Regions from separate parts of the Homo sapiens genome. Here region 1 is linked to region 2. Evidence: promoter capture Hi-C in 16 types of primary human blood cells and fetal thymus (Javierre and others, 2016). All regions are on one chromosome and are shown on one strand. The core of a region is centred on a gene start or on the middle of the fragment in contact, and the rest is flanking DNA. Distances in the headings are between cores, read along the strand shown.

What was found. Contacts are between HindIII fragments. The CHiCAGO score rates a contact against its expected background, and 5 or more counts as called.
Region 1: a fragment that was not itself captured here is called in contact with the fragment with the promoter of COL28A1 in region 2 in 1 of 17 cell types (total B cells); the score reaches 5.0 in total B cells.

What each region holds. Positions count from the first base shown.
Region 1 is chr7:7,302,019-7,306,431 of GRCh38, reverse strand. The region is part of intron 1 of LOC107986764 (a long non-coding RNA gene); the gene reads right to left. Among named protein-coding and RNA genes, the nearest start is that of LINC03016, 49 kb to the right of the region's middle. The HindIII fragment of the contact is 2,270 bases long and covers 2,008-4,277 here.
Region 2 is chr7:7,534,163-7,538,660 of GRCh38, reverse strand. It overlaps COL28A1 (collagen type XXVIII alpha 1 chain), which reads left to right and starts at 2,788. Exons shown (of 35, transcript NM_001037763.3): 1 at 2,788-2,911. The HindIII fragment of the contact is 1,663 bases long and covers 1,354-3,016 here.

The DNA.
Region 1 (4,413 bases), core at 1,893-4,392, 230 kb after region 2:
CTCACCTGTGGACTAGAATAGGTCTGGACAGTAGCCAACAAGCCTTTTGTTCCAAGAAACTCTCTGAGGAATCACAGGTGAGAAAATAATTAATATTTAAAACAATGCATTGGCTAACAAAAATGTTCCTTGGGATGGGAAACAGCCAGAGATGGCATACAGTCCTGGGCAGAAATGAAAGGTAACTCAAAAGCCACCTTGTTGCTAATGGAGAGATGACACCAACAAACATCTACCCACACTCAGGCCTCCTTCTAAGGAAACTGCTCTGTTTACAGCGTTGCTGCCTAAGTGGCCCTGATTGGAAAATACTGCCCTAATGCTCTTGGCCATGTCTGAGTGGGTAAAGAGTGAGTGTCCAACCCTATGTGACCAAGTTCCCAGGCTGGCCTGACACCGAAAGATAAGCTGCATGTATTAATTTCCTAGGACTGATGTAACAAATGGCCACAAACTGGGGGGCTTAGAATGACAGAAATTTATTCTCTTAGAGTTCTGGAAGCCAGAAGTCTGAAATCGAGGTATTAGCAGGACCATCCTCTCTCAAAACATTCTAGGGAAGATTCTTTCCTTGCCTCTTTCAGTGTCTGGTGTTTGCCAACAATCATTCTTTTTCCTTGGCTTTTAAATGCGTCACTCCAATCTCTGTTTCTGCTGTCATGTGGCATTTTCCTTATGCATCTTTTTTTCTGTGTCAAAATTTGACCACTTCTTATAAGGACATCAGTTTTATTAGATTTAGGGCCCACTCTAATCTATCTAGTATGAACTGATCTTCATTATATCTGCAAATATTCTGTTTCCAAATAAGGTCACACATACAAGTACTGTGGGTTAGGACTTAAACATATCTTTTTGAAGGACGCAATTCAACCCCCAGCAGTGGGTCAATCAAAGTTTTTTCTTGGAAATGGGAACTAAGAAACACACAGAGAACTAATCAGTTGGTGAGTGGAGTTCAAAGTAAAACAAAGCAGCGTACTGGAATCAGGGCCAGGGCCACTGAAAGCCATGTTCAAGCAGGAGTTATCTGAGCACAGAAGAGATGCAGGGGGCAGCCTTGGAAGCTGGAGGAGAGAGAGAGAGAGGAGACCAACGCAGTGACAGAGAGGGAGATACAGCCATAGATGCTGAGGATGGTTCCTGAAGTTGCGCCACACTCTCTGACTTTCTACCTCCAGTTTCTGTCTAGCTATATATTAACCCCCCTCTTAAGATAAGTGCTTTAGAAATTTGTTCCTCGTGACTACATGAGCTAAGATAAAAGAGTCCAAGGAGACTCTTCTTTTTAGAAGTAAGGAAATGAAGGCCCTGAGAATGCAGTGACTCCAATTCAGTGTTCTACCTCCCGGTGTGGCCATCTTCCATGAGTGTCAGTTCCTCCTGACCACTGGATTCCAAGGAAAGCCTGACTGCCAGGCAATGAGAAGGGTTTACATTAGCACCTCCATGAAAGAGTAATAATTACCCACAGGCCACTAGGCACATGCCTAGGCCTGCTAGGAGGCACAGAGTGGTACAATAGCTACCTTTCTTCTGTGATTCCTGGATTCCAGGCCGAATCCTAAGTAGACATGCAGGTTAGGATATGATGATTGCTGTTTACCTACACCATCAATCTCACATACGTGTAGAAGGGAAGCTGGCACGGGACCTGGGATAGGCCAAATGACTTAGTCAAGAACTGCCCTTTTCACTTTTTAGACTAGGATTCCCCAGAGTCTGTCTCTCCCCAAGCTGGCATAGAACAGATCATTTAATAATTTTCCGCTACTAGTGGAAATCCAATGATCAGAGTCCCAGAAAAAAGGGGGCATGGGGATTTATTCTGGGATTATACTCTACCATCACCTGTTCCCCCCATTCTGCCATCTCTAAAAAAAAGTTTTGTGTAAGCATAAAATAATTTGTCCTTCTAGGGATAATACAATAGATGCTTACTAAGAACTTTCTTATAAAGTGCTCAACTGTGAATGAATGACTGAAAAATTAATTTTATTTTAAGCTTGAATACCAAGAAAGAGGAGAAATACAGTTTGGAAATCAGAGAAGTGGTTTCCAGTTCTGTTGCTCTGCTTAACTGTGGATCCCCAAGAAAAGTTTTGATCTGACAAGTGAGAATGTGGAAGTAGGAATTGCAGCTACCACTCGGACGGACAGAGCAGCATGTGGAGGCTCGCGTTGTTGAACTTCTGCTCCAGAATGACTGCAGGAATAAATCGGGAAAGCTGAGAGAACCCACAGACCCTCTGAAGGAAGCGAATTGCTCCTGCAGGACCCGGGAGACACCCCAAATACTGTGAGTGCCCAAACTGTGAAAGTAGGAAAGGGGAATCATCTGCTCCGAACACACACCCTCACTGGGAAACCTGAAAGTCTAGGTCACGGGAGAAGATTCTGACCTTACCCGGAGCTGAGTCAATTTAGAGAGCTGAGCAAAATACAGGCGTAGAAGAAGCAGCGGGAAAAGCCCTGTGGGCTCGCTTGGTGCCCTAGCAAGTCGTTTCTGCCTTGCCTCACAGGGGTCCTTGAGGCAGGCTGCCAGAGGCACTGGGAAAAGGGAACAGGAAGAAGGAAACCTCCAGCTGAACTTTGTAACAATTTGAAGCCATTGAGAAGTCTTCTGGCCAGAACCTGGGGGAGGGTATGAATCCGGTGTGCAGAATTCACAGGTAGGGGAAGCACAAAAGCCCTACTTGCTTTTGCAGCTGGGAGGCAGGTATCCTGGGGCAAGTTCTCAGCCCTGCTTGCCCATTGCTTGGAAACAGACTTGTTGCTATTGGGGGTGGGGGGCAGGCACATGGTGGGAGTGAGACTAGCCCTTTGGGTTGAGTGGGAGCTAGGTGAGGCCTGTGACTGCCAGCTTTCCCCCACTTTCCTGACAACCTGCATGACACAGTAGAGGCAGCCACGCCTAGCCCTGCGCCCACCTAATGGTCCTTCCCTACACACCCTGGTAGCTGAAGACAAAGGGCATATACTCTTGGGAGTTCTAGGACGGCACCCACCACCTGTTCCTCCCCATACTATCATGGCTGATGCTGTCTTGAAAGCACTACCTCCCAGCAGGAGGCCAACCAGAACAAAAATGGTGCATTAAGCAACCAAAGTTAAGGACCCTCACAGAGTCCATTTCACTCCCTTGCCACTTCCACCAGAGAAGGTGCTGGTATCCACGGCTGAGAGACCCACAGACGATTCACATCACAGGATTCTGTGCAGACAAACTTCAGTACCAGCCCAGAGCCTGGTGAACTTGCTGGGTGGCTAGGTCCAGAAGAGACATAACAATCAGTACAGCTCAGCTCTCAGGAAGCCACATCCTTAAGAAAAGGAGGAGAGTACTACATCATGGGAACACCCCATGGGACAAAAAAATCTGAACAACAGCCTTGAGCCCCAGATCTTCCCTCTGACAGAGGCTACCCAAATGAGAAAGAACCAGAAAACGAATTCTGGTAATGTGACAAAACAAGCATCTTTAACACCCCCAAAAAGTCACACTAGCTCACTGGCAATGGATTCAAACCAAGAAGAAATTCCTGATTTACCTGAAAAAGGAGGTTAGTTATTGAACTAATCAGGGAGGCACCAGGGAAAGGCAAAGCCCAATTTAAGGAAGTCAAAAAAATGATACAAGACATGAGGAGAGAAATTTTCAATTAAATAGATAGCATAAATAAAAAACAATCAAAACCTCAGGAAACAATGGATGGACTTATAGAAATGCAAAATGCCCTGGAAGGTCTTAGCACTAGAATCAAACAAGCAGAATAAAGAACTTCAGAGCTTGAAGACAAGGTCTCTAAATTAACCCAATCCAACAAAGAAAAAAAAATTAGAAAATATGAACAAAGCCTCCAAGAAGTCTGGGATTATGTTAAATGACCAAACCTAAGAATAATCAGCATTCTTGAGGAAGAAGAGAAATCTAAAATTTGGAAAACATATTTGGGGGAATAATCAAGAAAAACTTCCCAGGCCTTGCTAGAGACCTAGTTATCCAAATATAAGAAGCTCAAAGAACACCTGGGAAATTCATCACAAAAAAGTAATCACCTAGGCACAATGTCATCAGGTTACTTAACGTTGAGACGAAGGAAAGAATCTTAACAGCTATGAGGCAAAATCACCAGGTAACTTATAAAGGAAAATCGATCAGATTAACAGCAGAGTTCTCAGCGGAAACCCTACAAAAAGGGATTGGGGCCTTATCTTCAGCCTCTTTAAACAAAACAATTATCAGCAAAGAATTTTGTATTCAGTGAAACTAAGCTTTGTAAATGAAGGAAAGATACAGTCAAACAAATGCTGAGAGAATTGGCCAGTACCAATCCAGCACTATAAGAACTGCCAAAAGGAGCTCTAAATCTTGAAATAAATTCTGGAAACACATCAAAACAGAACCTCTTT
Region 2 (4,498 bases), core at 1,539-4,038:
TCTAGGACCCCAAAATATCATCACCACTGAAATTAAGATGTTGGCACTGGTACTAGAATCAATAAACACAATGCAGATGCTACTATGGTAGCATATTAAAAGAATTTGAAAAAGTTGAAAAAAGATTTTCATCTAGCAGAGCTTTGGAGAAGAGCAATTTATTGTATCACAGACCTCAAGTGACTGATAAACACTAAAAATTACTTCTAATAATCATTTATTTCACAAATATGACTGCTTACTCTGGGCTATTTATAGTAGTAACAATGAAAATAGTGTGCTATATTTCTTCCATAAAGACTTTTACTACAAAATAACTGTCAGAAGGGCATGGGCTCCACGTTGCCTTTTTCTAGTCATTATGGTTATCCATGCTCTCTTATTTGTTCTGGTGTAAGTCCAATAGCATACTAATTCAAGACCATCTGTTGGGATTAAGATTGTGGTGCATTGTTTCTCTGGGTGCAAAACTAATTGTCTTTTATAGATTGATGAAACTGAAGATTTTATTTTGCATAATCTTCCCAATTAATTTAGTGCTGATTTTCACGCTTGAGAATGAGAGGTGGCAAATCTTTGGTTTGAGTTACCCTATTTAATGTTGGAGAATGAAAGGGAATGGATGACTAAGTTGGACTCCAACCTCCCACCAACTTTAATCAAAACAGCTCCAAGGCAGGAGGGCTTTAGTCCATTTCCCCCATCTAGGAATCACCTGTTTGCTTCTTAGTGGCATTATTATTCTGCATGTTTTTAACCTGCCTCAGCAAAAAGAGAGTTGACCTGAAAAGATGCTACTTCCTTGTCTCTTGATTCTCATCTTACAAAAGTAAAAAGTGTGACTAACACCCATAGGCTATCAGGTAAATACATGGTTGTTCCCTAGGAAATTCCGTTGTTATTTCTGCATTATACCCACCGTTTCTTCTTTCTGTTACCAAAGCCTCACAAAACTTCCTCAGTTCCTCGAAACCTGTTTTGTGAGGAGGAGACAGTGAAAACACAGACGTTCGCATAGATACTTAATGATGCAGTAGTTGTTATAAGTGAGGCTCACAGGTCTTACCAGCCTGAGTTAAAAGTTCATTTTGCCATTCTCTGGTTTTAGTATGACAGCGGACAAGTTACTGAACCTCTCTCTGCCTCCATCTTGGAAAAATTCGAATTCTTACAACATCTACTAAGTACAAGGGGTCCTGGAATAATATTTTGTTCAATGTCATTTTGTTATAACATTGATGAGAAAAAAAATTCAATTCCTGGGCCAGGCTCACTGTGTGGAGTTGACATGTTTTCCCCATGTCTGTGTGGGTTTTCTCCAGGTCCTGGAGTTTCCTCCCACATCCCAAAGCTTTGCCCATTAGATGCATTGGTGTGTCTACATGGTGCCTGTCTGAGAGAGTGGGTGGGTGTATGAGTGCCCTTTGACAGTACTGCATCCTGTCCAGGGCTGGTTCCTGCCTTGTATCCTCAGCTGCTGGGACAGGATCTGGTCAACCGTGACCCTGAACTGGAATATGCAGGTAAGCAGTTATCTTGTTTTTATCAATCTTTCATAAATGTATATATAGCTTAGATTTATTTCAATGTTTATTATTAGAGGTGTTTTGAGTATTTAGAGGTTTAGTGATGTTTTTGTGACTAGGAATATGCCATAAGAGCTTAACTCTTATTTATATCAATTAGCTCTTGGGAAAATTGTCTTCATTATCAATTGTTTCACTTTATGTCACAGTTTCCAGAACCTACAGAGGACATTAAGTGAGGACTTACTGTATATAGGTGGTTGTGCTTGTGAAGGATTAAATGAGGTAATGTGTGTGAAGCACTCAGGACAGTGCCTAGCACCTGGTAAGTGTCCATGAATTGGAGGCTATTATTGCTGTAATAAGGAAATTCATACACATTAAAATGGCTAAGAAAGTTCATTTTAAATAACCGTAACATGCACATTTGTATTGCTTTCTCGGATGATCTTGCTATTCTCTATTTCAGAGGAAGTCCGTGGAGAAGCCTGCCTGTTAGCTGTCTAGGGGTCAGGTGGCTTCTTGGCAGTATATATTACATGATAAACATTGACTTAATATGGACCATAACCACAAGGTAGAAAATAGGGAAACAGGGAGTGGAAAAACCACAGTGATCCTTTCCTAGAGAGAGACCAAAATATTAACCGCTGTAAACCTCTCATGTTACAGTTCGAACACATCTTAATAAATGATTAAATCTACTCTCTCATTTCATAAGTGGGGAACTGAAGCCCCCATAAAAGTTAGGGGCAGAACTATGACTATACTCAGACCACTCTTTCCCTGTATATTATATATACCTTTTATTATAAAAAATTTCAAAAATCACAGAAATACAAAGACTAGAACAATGCACACCTATGTACTCATCATCCAGCTTTAATAACAATCAAACTGTTACCTCTCTTAAAAAAACAGCTTTGATTCTGAGTCTGGTGTCATTTATACTCCTTCACAGAGATGTTCAGAACCAGTATCTTAGAGCACATCCCCCAGGCAAAGAAATGTAGCAATAAAAAGAGAAGGACATAGCATGAGAAAAAAAGGCAGGCTGTCAACCAATGCCTAAAATGTAGAAAGTTCTCTCAAGTTGTTTTTACAATAGTCTGGAAAACACAGTCTCATTCTGAAAGGACACTGTTCCTTTAAATTGCTTACTGATCCCACCCAGATCTTGCACCCTGGCCAAATGCCTGACCACTCTTGCTTTGACTTAGTCGAATAAACATGAACAAAAGACTGCAAAAGATCCTAAAGCAAAGACACTTTTATTTCCCACAGAACAGAACAATATCAAATAGCTAACTTCACCCCCAACCACAGTCCTTGCTGTTGGCATTTACTCAACTAGTCTTTAATTCCTGTTTGACAAACTTTATAAGGTAAGACATAACAGATTTATTTTAGTCACTTGAAATCAGATAGGACCATCAAGGAACTGTGGAAGACTAAATGACTTACTTACATAATTATTAGGTGAGAAAGCTTGTCAATAGTTTGTATTCTCTGCAATTACTTCAAATCAATTATTAGAAAAATATTAACATTGTTAAAATGTAGAAATTTAAAACTTAAAATTATTTTGAAATGGATTTTTAATTTACAGTCTTCTAAATTGTTTTACAACGATGTTAATATATTTTAGGACATCTTTTTCTTAATTTGGAACAGGGTTTACAATTCAGAATTAGTTATAGAATACTTTACAACTTGGCTAATTTGTCAATTTGAATAAAGTCTTTATTCAATCATTTTCTATTTGTGTAGAAACTGAGATGCAAACATTGTAACTAAAGTTGGTGAACTCTGATATAAGATCATTTTATTTTTGAAAAATTATAAAAAATAAAGTATCTTGGATTTATTTACTGATCCTGATATTTACCCCAAATAAATTTTAGGCCAAAAGTAAAACTACGGTATTTGATTAATAATTATGATTGTTTCTGCATTTATAAAATGTAACCTATAGTAAACACAGAGGTTCACATTTCTTTCACTTAACTAATGGCACTGTTTCCTCTGAAACCTATTTTGCTTGTACGTGACATCAGAAAGAGAGAAAGGTGAGAATTATTAAAAACAGAGGCAAAATAAAACATGGTAAAAAGTGATTAGAAATGAGTGGGCTCTCAAGATGCCAAATTAATAAACGAGAAAGATATTTCAGGGAAGCAGTAGAACTAACAAGCTAGAGAAACAAATCTAGAGAGGTATGAAAATGTCCTCTGGCTACAATAGGGAAACAGAAAGAAATAACAAGACTTTGGTTTGGGAGAGCTAGATTAACAATGTCAGAGCAAATAAGAACAAAATATGAGATACTGGGATTATTGTCAATGGAAAAGTTATGTTTGTGAATATCATATATACAGGGATCAGGTACAAATTCATGATTATATGCCAAGAAAACAGTAAGAGCAGGTGCTTAGTTTTGGGAAAAGATAAATCTTTATTTAAAGCCAGTATTTCTAAAACCTTACATGAAGGGTTTTGAAGAGTTGCTTGATTATGTTGCTTATAAAATCTTGCTCAGTTCTCAATGGAATTCAGTTCTCAGCCTCTTATTTCCAGAACTTCTGAGATGTTCCTTATGGTATGAACTCAACCAAAGAGAAAAGTCATATGTAATACCATGGCCATGGTGTTATTCCCTTTCCCCTTTGAAAATGCAATAACAACTGTGTTTTTCACATAGCCTTATCTTTACACTAACCTTCAGACTTAAAGTTGTACATCATTTATTTTTTTCCTTGGTTAGCAAAGGGACAACTTGAGGAGAGATGGCCTTTGTGTGTTCTGTTTCCTTAGCACATTTCTTGGTTTTGTTTTGTTTTTAATACCCAGCTGTCTTTACATTTTAGTATACCTTGTCTGAGGATCAGTTGGCATTTGGCCAATTGCTACACAAGATGTTTGGTCATACCTATCCAAAGTTCTTTTAATACACTTCCAGCTGGATGATGCTA